2 separate regions of the Homo sapiens genome follow, and region 1 is linked to region 2. Evidence: promoter capture Hi-C in human tissues and cell types (Jung and others, 2019). All regions are on one chromosome and are shown on one strand. The core of a region is centred on a gene start or on the middle of the fragment in contact, and the rest is flanking DNA. Distances in the headings are between cores, read along the strand shown. Region 1 overlaps CAP1 (cyclase associated actin cytoskeleton regulatory protein 1). Region 2 holds the start of COL9A2 (collagen type IX alpha 2 chain).

What was found. Contacts are between HindIII fragments. The study calls those that stand out against the background at their distance.
Region 1: a fragment that was not itself captured here is called in contact with the fragment with the promoter of COL9A2 in region 2 in 1 of the 25 tissues and cell types used here (bladder).

The regions. Positions count from the first base shown.
Region 1 is chr1:40,042,229-40,048,980 of GRCh38, forward strand. All of the region lies in intron 1 of CAP1 (cyclase associated actin cytoskeleton regulatory protein 1), which reads left to right. Among named protein-coding and RNA genes, the nearest start is that of CAP1, 4.9 kb to the left of the region's middle. The HindIII fragment of the contact is 3,941 bases long and covers 3,489-6,752 here.
Region 2 is chr1:40,315,360-40,322,678 of GRCh38, forward strand. It overlaps COL9A2 (collagen type IX alpha 2 chain), which reads right to left and starts at 1,927. Exons shown (of 32, transcript NM_001852.4): 1 at 1,764-1,927; 2 at 231-305. The coding sequence starts at 1,838. RefSeq lists enhancers at 1, 785-1,421, 1,422-2,058 and silencers at 172-231, 242-341, 1,102-1,611. The HindIII fragment of the contact is 32,999 bases long and covers 1-7,319 here.

The DNA of each region.
Region 1 (6,752 bases), core at 4,209-6,708, 270 kb before region 2:
TAGCCTTTGTGGCAAAGAATACAGTTCTTCTGGAGTTTACAGTGGGAGAGGAAATAGACAAGTAAATGAGGGATGGCTTACAGTGTCATAGTGCATAGCACAGGGCTACAAGAGCACAGTGGAGAAATACCTGAGCCAGGTGCCCAGGGTTCCAGGAGGAAATGGGAGGCTAACTCTTGAAATATTTATTTAGCTACATAGGGAATCCGGAAAAGGGATTTCCAGGCAGAGACTACTACAGGTGCAAGGACCTGGAGAACCGGACAGCTGAAAGACCATGACGAGTTCAGTGTGACTGGAATTCTAGTAATGGCTGGGGAAGTGGAGGAAGTGAGATGTGGTCAGGTCAGTCATATGTGGAGGACATTGTAAGTCATGCTAAGGAATTTGGATTTTTACCCTGAAAGCTATGGAGATGCTTTGAAGGGTTTTATGCAGGAAAATGATGTCGTCAGATTTATATTTCAGAAAGTTCATTCTGTCAAGTAGGAGGGGACCAGCCCTGTGGGGAAGTAAAACAGTGTTTGGAAGCTCTTGCTGTAGACATGGCCTGAACTAAGACAGTGGAAATGGGAATGGAGAGGAGGCATCAGATGTGAGCAATATTAAGAAGATAGAATCCATAGAATTGGAGGCTGATTATGGGAATGAAGAGGTAAGAATAGCGCGATTGCCTGGCTTTCTGGCTTAGGGAACTGAATGGGTAGTACCATTCAGATAGAGAGTATGAGAGGTAAATTAGGGAAGTGACATGGGAAAAAATGCATTTTGAATGTTTTTAGTTTGAGGTGTTTGTAGCACATCCAGGCAAAGATGTCTAATAAGGTGGGTCAGCTAAAGGAAAGAGCAAGAGTAAAGATACGGAGGCAGGAGAGGGCCTAAATTGTTCAGTGATACTGGGGCCTGGAGTTTTGCAGAAGACCAGACTGCAAAAAAGGTTAGATGTCGGCCAAGTTGTGAAGGGCTTTTTGTTTGTTTGTTTGTTTTGAGACGGAGTCTTGCTCTGTTGCCCAGGCTGGTGTGCAGTGGCACAATCTCGGGTCACTGAAACCTCCACCTCCCAGGTTCAAGGAATTCTCCTGCCTCAGCCTCCTGAGAAACTGGGATTACAGGCGTGCGCCACCACGCCCGGCTAATTTTTGTATTTTTAGTAGAGACGGGATTTTACCATGCTGGCCAGGCTGGTTTCGAACTCCTGACCTCGTGATCCGCCTGCCTCGCCCTCCCAAAGTGTTGTGATTACAGGTGTGAGCCTCCGCACCCGGCGTGAAGGGCTTTTAATGCCTTGTTGAATTTGTTTGGATTTGATTTTGTGGGTGGCAGTTTGCTAATTGATTTGCCCAGGTCCAGCATAAAGAAATTTCTGGGCTGGGCACAGTGACTCACGCCTGTAATCCTGACACTTTGGGAGGCTGAGGTGGGCAAATCACTTGAGATCAGGAGTTCAAGACCATCCTAGCCAACATGGTGAAACACCATCACTACTAAAAATACAAAAATTAGCTGGGCGTGGTTGTGCATGCCTGTAGTCCCAGCTACTTGGGAGGCTGAGGCAGGAGACTCGCTTGAACCCGGGAGGCGGAGGTTGCAGTGAGCTGAGATTGCACTGCTGCACTCCAGCCTGGGTGATAGTGAGACTCTGTCTCAAAAAAAAAAGAAAAGAAAAAAGAAATTTCTCGCTTTTTCCAGAAATACTTCCTCAATTGGGTAGGCATAATTGATATCTCAGAGAAGTTTAAATAAAATGGTAGCAGCAAAAGTACTTTGTAGAATACAGCCTGATGTGCAAACCAAAAGTGGTGATATTGTTAAGATTCAGTGAGTATATTTTTGCTTTGGAGTTTAGCTATTGAGTCTGTAAAATGTTTTGTTTCCAACCTAGGGATGATCTTTTATTCTCACCCTTTTTCCTGGTTGCAGTTATTTTTTTAGCTTTTAAAAAGTGACTTTCTTGAGGCTGAGTTAGAGACTAGCCTGGTCAACATAGTGAGACCCCTGTCTCTACCAGAAAAAAAAAAGGTGACTTCCTCCTTTCAGTTTTTTGTGAAGCATTGTGAATCAAATTTTTTTTTACTTAAGCAAATGCAATGTGTCACTGGAAGCCGAACCTCTGGTTTGAAATTTAATGCTGAGATTTGAAATATGAGAGTTCTCGAGCGGTATCTTACCCAATTTTAGTGATTATTACTTTGAAATGTTGACATCAGTTTCTTTCTTTATTTGTGCTAACCTGGCTTTCATGACCTATACTTCAGTTTCTCTATGACAACCAGACAAATCTTTTTAAAGTTCTCTAAGAAGAAGCATTTTTCATCTTGTTAGTCTTCACTGACTTCATATTTACAAAGAATAAATTCTGAACTCTTTTTTCCATCTTACAGAATTCTCTACAGTTTAGACCCTTATCTTAATTTTTATTAGATGATACAGGTTGACTTTCTAATTTAGAAAGTCGTGAACTAGCATTTTACTTAACCTTTTGCACCTCCCTATGCTCCTTATTAAATTAGAACAGGGTTTCTCAACGTTGGCACAATTGACATTTTGGGCCATATAATTCTTTTTTTTTTTTTTTTTTTTTTTTTTGAGACAGAGTCTCTATCTGTCACCCAGGCTGGAGTGCAGTGGCACAATCTCGGCTCACTGCAAGCTCAGCCTCCCGGGTTCACGCCATTCACCTGCTTCAGCCTCCCGAGTAGCTGGGACTACAGGCGCCCGCCACCAGGCCCAGCTAATTTTTTGTATTTTTAGTATAGACGGGGTTTCACTGTGGTCTTGATCTCCTGATCTCGTGATCTGCTCGCCTCGGCCTCCCAAGGTGCTGGGATTACAGGTGTGAGCCACCGCGCCTGGCCATATAATTCTTTATTATGGAGTTGTCCTGTGCACTGTGGGATGTTAAGCAGCATCTGTCTCTACCCAGTAGATGCCAATAAGACTTCCTCAGTTGTGACAACCAAAAATGTCTTCAGACATTGCCATATGTCTCCTGGAGGACAAAATTGCCCCTGGTTGAGAATTGCTGCGTTAGAAAGTATCGTAGCTATGATTGTACAATGTCCCCAACTAAATTCTGTGAGGGCAGGCCCCATAGCCATACTTAGCACAGTCGATGGTACATGATAAGCACTCAGTATCCTACAATGAATGAATCATTTGTTTCTGTTGAAGCTTCAAGAAATTACTGTTCCTTCAAGGAATTTCTGGGTGGGCAGGTTGGAGTACAATGGTGCAATCATGGCTGATTGCAACCTCCAACTTTTGGGCTCAAGTAATCTTCTCGCTTCAGCCTCCTGAGTAGCTGGGACTACAGTTCTTTTTCTTTCTTTTGTTTTTTGTTTTTTTGAGATGGAGTTTTGCTCGGTCGCCCAGGCTGGAGTGCAGTGGCGTGATCTTGGCTCACTGCAACCTCCCCCTCCCGGGTTCAAGCAGTTCTCCTGCCTCAGCCTCCTGAGTAGCTGGGACTAGAGGCACACACCACCACACTCAGCTAATTTTTGTATTTTTAGTAGGGACAGGGTTTTGCCATGTTGGCCAGGCTGGTCTCGAACTCCTCAAGGGAACCACCCACCTCAGCCTCTCAAAGTGCTGGGATTACAGGCATGAGCCACCATGCGCTCGGCCAAATGTTTGATTTTTTTCAGAGACAGGGTCTTGCTATGTTGCCTGGGCTGGTCTTAAACCCCTGGCCTCAGGTGATTCTCTGGCCTCAGTCTCCTGAGTCACTGGGATTACAGGCATGAGCCACCACACCTGGCAGATGTGATCTTAAGAGAAGTGCCATTGGTTTGAGTACTAGAAGCAAGCTTCTTGTTGATGGTGTAAGTCAGCAGATTTCCCTCTCTATTGAAAATTGTGTGAATTCCTGTTTTGTTTGTGTTCCTTGTATTTAGAGTGCTTGGTTTTAGTGGACAGGGACTATCATTTATTTTAAAGTTGCATATAGGCTGGGCGTGGTGATTCACGCCTGTAATCCCAGCATTTTGGGAGGCCAAGGCGGGTGGATCACCTGAGGTCAGGAGTTCGAGACCAGCCTGGCCAACATGGTAAAACCCCGTCCCTACTAAAATTACAAAAATTTGCTGGGTGTGGTGGCATGTACCGTAATCCCAACTACTAGGGAGGCTGAGGCAGGAGAATCACTTGAACCCGGGGAGGTGGAGGTTGCAGTGAGCTAAGATCGTGCCACTGCATGATCTGCGCCAGCTTGGGTGACAGAGCAAGACTCCGTCTCAAAAAAACAAAACAAAACAAAAAAAAACAAACAAACACTAAAGTTGCATATAGTTTATGGAGTTATTCACATTTATTTTAGTTGATAAAATTATACAGTCATGTGTTGCTTAATGACAGGTACATTCTGAGAAATTTGTCATTAGGTGATTTCATCATTGTGGGAACATCATAGAGTGTACTTGCACAAATTTAGATGATACTGCACATGGTGTAACTTATTACTCCTGGGCTACAAACCTGTATAGTATGTTACTGTATCTAATACTGTAGGCAGTTTGTAACACAGTGTAAGTATTTGTTTATTTAAACTTTTTTTTTTTTTTTTTGAGACGGAGTCTCACTCTGTCGCCCAGGCTGGAGTGCAGTGGCACGATCTTGGCTCACTGCAACCCCCGCCTCCTGGGTTCAAGCAATTCTTCTGCCTCAGCCTCCTGAGTAGCTGGTACTACAGGTGCGCACCACCACGCCCAGCTAATTTTTGTATTTTTAGTAGAGATGGGGTTTAACTATATTGGCCAGGCTGGTCTCAAACTCCTGACCTTGTGTTCTGCTAGCCTTGGCCTCCCAAAGTGCTGGGATTACAGGCATGAGCCATCGCGCCCGGCCACATTTTTAAAGTACAGTAAAAATAGGGTATTATAATCTTATGGGATTTTGTGTTGATTAATCCCCATATAATCCCATATAATCTTATGGGACCACTGTTGATTTTGTGGTCCATCCATTGACCAAAATGTCATTATGTAATGCATGACTGTAGTTTCATAATTTTAAATTAATGCAGCTACAGCATTCACCATGAAATTATTTCTTGATGTACTATATGTTAACCTGATAAAAACAAAGTTCTAAAAATATGCCTCAGCTACAGTGCTGCTTTGTTTGCCTTGTATTACCAGACCTTTTGTGCCAAACTTTTCCATTTGGCTGGAAAATAGTTGAAATGTTTAATGGAAGGAGCAGACTTGCTTTGTTTTGTTTTGTTTTTTCCTCCAGAGGGCATTGAAATTCCTATACTTTAGTTAATTATAGACTTACAGTCTTTCCATATTCCTACTTGTAGATGAATCATGGCTAAGGACAAACGTCATCCTTGAATCCATCTTTATATATTAGAGTGGGAAATGCTGTTTTATTAAAGCAACTATTCAGGCTGAAATCAGCCAATGCAGTTTTCCCTTACACGCTATAAAACATGTAGAAGTAGAAAGGGACTGCCGAGTGCTCTGTGCAATTAGTCTTCATAATATTCTTTGAACGTAGGAGAGAAGAGAACCCATGACCACACAAAGTTACCTGTTTGCTCCAGACATTGAAACAGCTAGTTCCCAAGTCTAATTTCACTTTATACACTAACTTTACTCACTCCTGGAGTTTCAGGTAGAGGACATGTGTAAGGAGGGAACAGGAGACAGGTGTTGATGTTGGGTTGGATTCCTTCCCTCCGTAGAAGATAGGCCTTTCTTTTAAAATCTAAACCTCGGGTGGCAGTGACTCAGGCACTAAATGTCATTGGTTTAATCAGTGAAACCAAATGCTTAGAGAAGAACAGTGGCTCCTGATTTGGGTTAGATTTAGATGGCATCTTTTTTTTTTTTTTGAGATGGTGTCTTGCTCTGTCTTGGCTCACCGTAACCTCCGCCTCCCGGGTTCAAGCAGTTCTCCTGCCTCAGCCTCCTGAGTAGCTGGGATTACAGGCATGAGCCATTGCACCCACCCACCATCACGCCTGGCTAATTTTTTTATTTTTGTATTTTTAGTAGAGACGGGGTTTTGCCATGTTGGCCAGGCTGGTCTCGAACTCCTGACCTCAGGTGATCTGCCCTTCTCAGCCTCCCAAAGCGCTGGGATTACAGGCATGAGCCATTGCACCTGGCCTTACAGGCATGAGCCATTGCACCTGGCCTAAATGGCATCTTTACTGGGGCAAAGTGGTGCCTGTTATTTGGTTTCTGTGTTAAACAAGCCAACTTGTATCTTCTGGTAGCATGTGTAGGTTTTACTTTGTGACATGTTAAAACCTCGTGATAAGAATTCATTAGAAGTAGAACTAACTACTACATAGTTTAGTGGTAATTTAGAAGGGATAGTCAAGTAGAGATTTTTATTATTATTATAAAATATTATATGTTAAAAGAAAGTTTGGAAAACAGGTAGAAATTGTCAAAAACCCATCACCCAAATGTGACAAATATTGTAAATTTTGCGTTCAAGTTTTTTTCCACACTTCATTTAGCTATTCCCCTATAATTAGAAGTCCAAGATAGATATAGATAGATCAATAGATCTAACATTGCAGCAAACATCTCCATGCTTATCACTTTTCTCACATTATGATTTACTTTCTTAGGATAAAACCTCAGGAACAGGATTACAAAATTAAGAGAAGCATTTTGAAGCAAATCAATTGGGCTACCATAGTAGACAGGCTGATTTGTATGGGTGCTTTATTTTCAATTTTACCTAAGGATGATGACTTAGAAAAACAACTGTGGGACAAAGTAGAAAACATTTCA
Region 2 (7,319 bases), core at 677-3,176:
ACAGCAGCTCCTTGTCTGTCGGCGGCTATAACGGGCTCCGCATGTCAGGGCTGGTTTGAGGTTTTTGCAGAACAAACGGCGTCCTTGTGGTGCGGGCCGGCGCCGCCTATTGGCGACGAGGGGCACTACATCTCCGGGCACCCCGAAGTCCCCACCCCCACCACAGCGCTCACAAAGTTCTCCTTTGTCTGCCGCCTCCCTCCCGCCCTGGTCTCAGGTTAGAGACTTACGTCGATGCCGTCGGATCCAGGCACTCCCGGCGGTCCCGGGGGACCCGGGGGGCCCCGCTCTCCCGGTGGACCTCTCTGAAAAACACACACGGGGTGGGGCAGTCCTCAGACAGTGCAGGAAGCTGGGCGTCCCCGGGGCTGCAAGCGACCCTGGGAGCGGGGTCCTAGGGGCGCAGCTCTTCCGCGAACTCCCACGTATTGAGAATCTTCTGTATAGCAGGCACTGTGTGCCATTACATGCATTCATTATCTTACAGAATACTCAGAACCGGGAGGCGGGCGCTATTACGGGCCCCAGTTTGCAGTCGAAGAAACTGGCTCAGAACGTGAAGGGTCCATGGTCACTGAGAGTGGGCGGCGGCGCCAGGAGTCCGCCCTGGATCTGCCCGACTCCTTCCACTGTGCCAGTTTGCCCTTGCGCGGTCGCGGTGGGGAATAGATGGAGACGTGGACAGCTCAAATAAATCACAGATGGAATGTAAGGTTGTGCCTAGCAGGCTGCCGGCCCTCAGTGAGCGGTGGCTCGGGTTGTTGTTCTTACGTGAACGACAGGCAGAGACAGCGCCTCCTCCTCTCCCCATGGTGCGGGAAAACCCGACGGGAAAGTGGGGGAGGCGCAGAGAAAGGAGGTGTAGGGAGGTGAAGCGGGTACTATCTTCCCACTCGGAGCGCCCCTTCGGCAGCACAGCTGCCCGGTCCTCCCTCTGCTAAGCCCTGACTGCTGCAGGGGAGCAGGAGGAGCCGGCACCTCCCAGAAAGCAGACCCTCTCTCTGGATCCCGTTTGCCTGCAATTCAATGCCCCTGGGTGGGTGTGAGGTTTCAGGGAGGTCACAAGTCATATCAAGATGAGGCGAGCTCACAGCTGGAGAGTCTCCATCCTGCTGCCCATCTCTGAACAGATCAGAGATCTTAAAAGGCGGCCCTTTTAAGAGGCCAGCTCGGACCCAGGCAGGGGTCCCGGTGCCCACGACCTCCCCAGGCCGCGAAGTGCCAGGCTGGCGCCCCGCAGGCGAGCTCGAAACCACACCCAGCACCCGACCGGGCCCAGTCTCTGCCCTACCCGCGCGCCCGCAGCCCCCGGCGGCCCTCGGAAGGGAGACGTGGGTAGGCGGGCAGGGCCGAGAGGCCGCCTCGGGGCGACAGCGGCGTCTGGTTGGAGCCGGCGCCCCCTGGGAGGCGGCGGGGGCGGAGGCTGCGCAGCGGGTGAATGAGCACCATTGTATGCCCCGCCACCTGGGCTCCCCGGGCTGCCAGGACCGGGCGCCAGCTCCTGCCCCACGCTGCCTGTCCCGGGCCGGGCCGCGCGTCTGGGGACGGGTCCCGTTTGACTCTCCGGCTCAGCCACCTCCATTCACGGTGCCGCGATGGGCACCATGTATGCACCCACCGAGGGGACCTGCCCGCGGCGCTGTCCTCAGGTGGCCTCTCGGGCTAGGGGTGTCAGTAGGCGCGGGACACAGGCAGAGCTCCTCCATCCCGGACTCCAGACCCCGCACCCTGGACCCTGGCAGCGGAGGGGCTGCGAAACTTACAATCTGCGCCAGAGCGAGCACTACCACCTGGAGGAGAACAAGGAGGCTGCGGGGGGAGGCCGTAGCGGCGGCCATGGCTGGCGGCGAGACCAAGGGGGACGGGTGCGTGTCCGCGCACGCACCGACGGCAGAGTCTCCCGGCGCTCCTCCAGCGCTGGCTGTTCGCGGGCAGGGTGGGCTGGGGCTCCTGAATATGCGGGGGGCGGGGCGGGGGCCGGCGTGAGCTGTCACCTGAGAGGACCGGCGGGGTTGCCGGGAGGGAGGCCGGCGCCAGGCATCCAGCTCCGCCCCGCTCGGTCCAGCCTCCTGCGCCCACCCTCTGTCCTCGAGGGGCGACCGGGGTGCGGGTCGGAGATGATGGTCCAGTTTCTTTGTGAGAAGGCATAAGGCCGTCTGAGGTTCCCCTCGGGACCTTCAGGCCCCAGCACCTTCCCCCTGACGCACAGCCTGTGCCCCATCACTTACCCTACGTCCTCTCCAGGGCCCAGGCCGAGAGCACCTCGGGCTCTGCAGATCTTGCTGCAGGCTCTCCCCAGCTCCCGCCCACCTTGCTCCCCTCTCCTCTGGCTCCTTCCTCTCCAAGCACAAACAAACAGGCCTTTTCCATATTAATATGCCACAGTCCTTCCTGGATCAGCCGTCTCATGAATACTCCATCGGCCTCTTCCAGCTCTTTAGTGGAGCTGTGTGCACCTCCCCCACCCCCGAACTTCCTCACCTCGCTTTCACCTCCCTACTCTGTCCCAACAAGCAAATCTGTCTCCTGGAGGTCTGCAGTGAAGCCCAACCCTTCTTCGGTCCTCCAGGCAGGAAGCTGTTGGCATCTTCACCTGCCCTTGAAGTCTTCCCCATCCAAGCTCCTGCCATCCAGCTCCCCTTTTTCTATTGCCTTTAATTCTCTGCAGCTGCCTTAAGCACTGGTGTGTTTAGGATTGGGCCTTCTCACTCCATGTTCATAGAAACAACTACCACTTTATTCACCAGAGTTTCCGAACCCCGCTGTCCAGCATAGCCCGACTCCAGAGAGCCTTCCCTTCCCTCCCACTCACTTAGGCAATATTGGTAAAATGCTTTGGAATCTGACTTTTTCACAATTATAGATATGACCACAGGCACCCCAAACTCTATGAAGTCTCATTTTCCTCATCTGTAAAATGGGGATACTAATAGTCCATATATATATATATATATATTTTTTTTTTAAGACAGAGTCTTAAAAGGCTCTGGAGTGCAGTGGCACGATGTCAGCTAACTGCAACCTCGCCTCGCGGGTTCAAATGATTCCCCTGCCTCAGCCTCTCGAGTAGCTGGAATTACAGGCATGAGCCACAATGCCTGGCTAATTTTTATATTTTTAGTAGAGATGGGGTTTCGCCATGTTGGCCAGACTGCTCTTGAACTCCTGACTTCAGGTGATCTGCCTGCCTCAGCCTCCCAAAGTGTTGGGATTACAGGCATGAGCCACCGTGCCCAGCAAATTGTCCTTATCTTAAAGGGTTTTTGTGGAAATTGAATGAGATGACTCATGCGAGGCATTTAACCTCGAACCAGCACATAGTAGGTGCTTGATACATTTTAGCTTTCCTTATGATTTATGGATGACTGTTTTACTAGGTTGGCATCCAATGTGGGGAAGCTGGCCACAGGCAGATCAGCTAAAATGATGAACCTAGTTGAAGCTAGAAAAGTCCAACTCCATTGGGCAGGTTAGCAAAGGGCTCTGGATTTTGAAAGGTTGTCCTGGAGCTGAGTTTGGGAGAAAGAGCTTGAGAGAATGTAATTGCTCTGCCTAACAGAGTGAAGAAGAATTTGAAGTTTGTTGGAAGATGAGAGCAAGAGGAGGAGGATGTAAGAGAGGGATGGTGGGCATTGCTTGGGGTGGGTGGGGTAAACCTATAAAGGATTTTTAGAACTGGGATGTCCAAATTCAATTTTAAGTTGTTTGTTTCACATCACTTATCTCTCCATCTTTTGTGGGCTAACCACAAGAAAGGCCTTGTGTGAGTAAGTTTTCTTTTTGTGTGTGGAAATTATGGAAAGAGGATGAGTTTCACAGTCTGGACAGCACACATTGATGTATTAATTACCTGTTGCACCATAACAAATCACCCTAACATTCAGCAGCTTAAAATGACAATTTCTTTGGATTAGGAATTTGAGAGTGACTCTGCTGGTTCGGTCTGGCCTGGGGTCTGTTATAAGGTCATAGTCAGATGGTGGCTGGGCCTGATGTCACCTAGAAGGCTTCTTCACTCACATGTCTGATGTCAGTACTGGGAAGCCTTCAACCGCTGGGGCCGGAACAGCTGGAGTTGCTTGGACAGTTCTCTCCTTTATCTCTTTGTGGGCTTTCCATGAAGTTTCTCCAACATGGCAGCTTCAAGGTAGCTGAACATCCTCTATAGCAGCTCAGAGGGAGTAGGAGAGCACCAGACTGAAGAGAATTGCCACTCAGGACCCGTCCTTGGAAGTCATGCAGTGGCACCTTCACCACATTCTTACTGTTGAGGCAATTGCAAAGGTCTGCCCATGATCAAGGGGAGGGAACAGAGACCCCACCTCAAGGATGAATGTTAATGTCACATTTTTTAATTTTTTTTTTGAGATGGAGTCTTGCCCTGTCACCCAGGCTGGAGTGCAGTGGCGCAATCTCAGCTCACTGCAACCTCCGCCTCCTGGATTCAAACGATTCTCCTGCCCCAACCTCTGGAGTAGCTGGGATTACAGGCGTACGCCACCACTCCCGGCTAATTTTTGTCTTTTTAGTAGAGATGAGGTTTCATCATGTTGGTCAGGCTGGTCTCGAACTCCTGACCTCATGATCCGCCCGCCTCGTGATCTGCCCGCTTTGTCTTCCCAAAGTGCTGGGATTACAGGCATGAGCCACCGCGCCCAGCCAGTGTCACATTTTAAGAAGAGAATAAGGGATAAAATTTATTTATTTATGTCTTTCTTTCTTTCTTACTTTTGAGACAAGGTCTCCCTCTGTCACCTAGGCTGAAGTGCAATGGAGGAATCACCACTCACTGTAGCCTCAAGTTCCTGGGCTCCTGATCCTCCCACTTCAGCCTCCTGAGTAGCTGGGACTACAGGCATGCACCGCTGCACCCAGCTAATTTTTTATTTTATTTTATTTTACTTTGAGACAGAGTCTTGCTCTGTTGCCCAGGCTGGAGTGCAGTGGTGTGATCTCGGCTCACTGCAACCTCCATCTCCCGGGTTCAAGCAATTCTCTTACCTCAGCCTCCCGAGTAGCTGGGATTACAGGCGCCTGCCACCATGCCTGGCTAATTTTTGTATTTTTAGTAGAGACAGGGTTTCACCACATTGGCCAGGCTGGTCTCCAACTCCTGACCTCAAGTGATCTGCCCACCTCGGCCTCCCAAAGTGCTAGGATTACAGGCGTGAGCGACTGCACCCAGCCATGCACCCAGCTAATTTTTTATATTTTGTAGACACAGGGTCTTGTCATGTTTCCCAGGTTGTCTTGAACTCCTGGGCTCAAACAATCCTTCTGCCTTGGACTCCCAAAGTGCTGGGATTACAGGTGTGGGCCACTGCACCCAGCCTGGGGATGCAATTTTTATTATTGATGCAACCATCTTTGGAAAATACATCCTGCCACACTTGGGGTTATAAACTGAACCAATCCAGTGGTAGCTGAAGCTTAAAGCTGGAGCCAATCAAGATAAATTTTAGGCCAGGCAAGGTGGCTCACGCCTGTAATCCCAGCACTTTAGGAGGCCGAGGCAGGCAGATCATCTGAGGTCGGGAGTTTGAGACCAGCCTGACTAATATGGAGAAACCCCATCTCTACTAAAAATACAAAATTAGCCGGGCATGGTGGTGCATGCCTGTAATCCCAGCTACTCAGGAAGGCTGAGGCAGGAGAATAGCTTGAACCTGGGAGGTGGAGGTAGCGGTGAGCTGAAAGCACGCCACTGCACTCCAGCCTGGGCAACAAGAGTGAAACTCTGTCTAAAAAAAAAAAAAAAAAAAATTATATATATATATATATATATATATATATATATATATATATATAAATTTTAGGGAAGGCTTTGGACCACAAGACATGGACTGGAGGTTCCAGCCAATTGCATATGGGTGTTTGTTTGTTTTTGGAAACAGGCTGGAGTGCAGTGGCACAATCTTAGCTCACTGCAGCCTTGACCTCCAAGGCTCAAGTGATCCTCCCACTTCAGCCTCCTCAGTAGGTACTTCTTGCATAGGACTCTTAAAGCACAGGGAGACCCTGAATAAGTGGAGAGTCATATATCTACATTTCTGTATAAGAAAACTCCATGTTGGCCAGGTGTGGTGGCTCATACCTGTAATCTCAGTACTCTTGAAAGCTCAGGCAGGAGAATCACTTGAGGCTAGGAGTTCAAGACCAGCTGGGGCAACACAGTGAGACCCCTTTCTCTACAAAAAAAAAAAAAAAAATTAGCAGGGTGTAGTGGTGTCTCCCAGCTACTTGGGAGGCTGAGGTGGAAGGATCACTTGAACCCTGGAGTTTGAGGCTGCAGTGAGCTATGATTGAGCCATGACATCCTAGCCTGGGTGACAGAACAAGACCGTCTCTAAAAACACAAAAAATAAAAATAGAAACTTAAAAACAAATGGCTAGGTATGGTGGCTCATGCTTGTAATCCCAGCACTTTGGGAGGCCAAGGTGGGAAGATCCCTTGAGCCCAAGATTTCAAGACTGGGCAACATAGATGTATATATATATAATATTTGAAATCTATGATGAAAGTATATATATTTAGTTTATGATAAAGGTTAAATTCAAGAGCAGTGAGGAAAGGGTAGACTAGATGTTGAGGTAATTGGCCATATATTCAGAAAAAAATTCAACTTAGATTTCTATATCAGCATACCAAAACTATATTCTTGAACAAATTAATTGAGGGCCCATATATAAAGATAGCAAATTATAAAAGGCCTAAAATAAATTTAAAAAATAATTTTTTTTGTCATGGAAAACATTTCTGGGCAGTACACAAAACCTAAAAAAGATAAGAAAAATGCTTAAAGTTGACTTTATCACACTTTTCTACACTTTATCACACTTTTTAAGTTTTTTTACAATAAAAATTACAGATAAAATTAAAAGTCAGAAAAGTTGAGAGTCATATATCTACATTTCTGTATAAGGAAACTCCATGTTGGCCGAGTGTGGTGGCTCACACCTGTATTATAATGTATATTTACAATTACATATATATATTACATATACAATTACATATCTAAATATATATTTAGATAATATATATTATATAAATTATATAATTTACAGTATACATTACGAGACAAAGCATTAATATGGAAAACATACAAAGAACTCTTATAAATCAATAAGACAAGCTCTATGAAACACTTAAAAGAATACCTGGCAGGGCGCGGTGGCTCACGCCTGCAATCCCAGCACTTTGGGAGGCCAGGGTGGGCGGATCACCTGAGGTCAGGAGTTTGAGACCAGCCTGCCCAACATGGAGAAACCCAATCTCTAGTAAAAATACAAAAAATTAGCCAGGTGTGTGGTGGGCACCT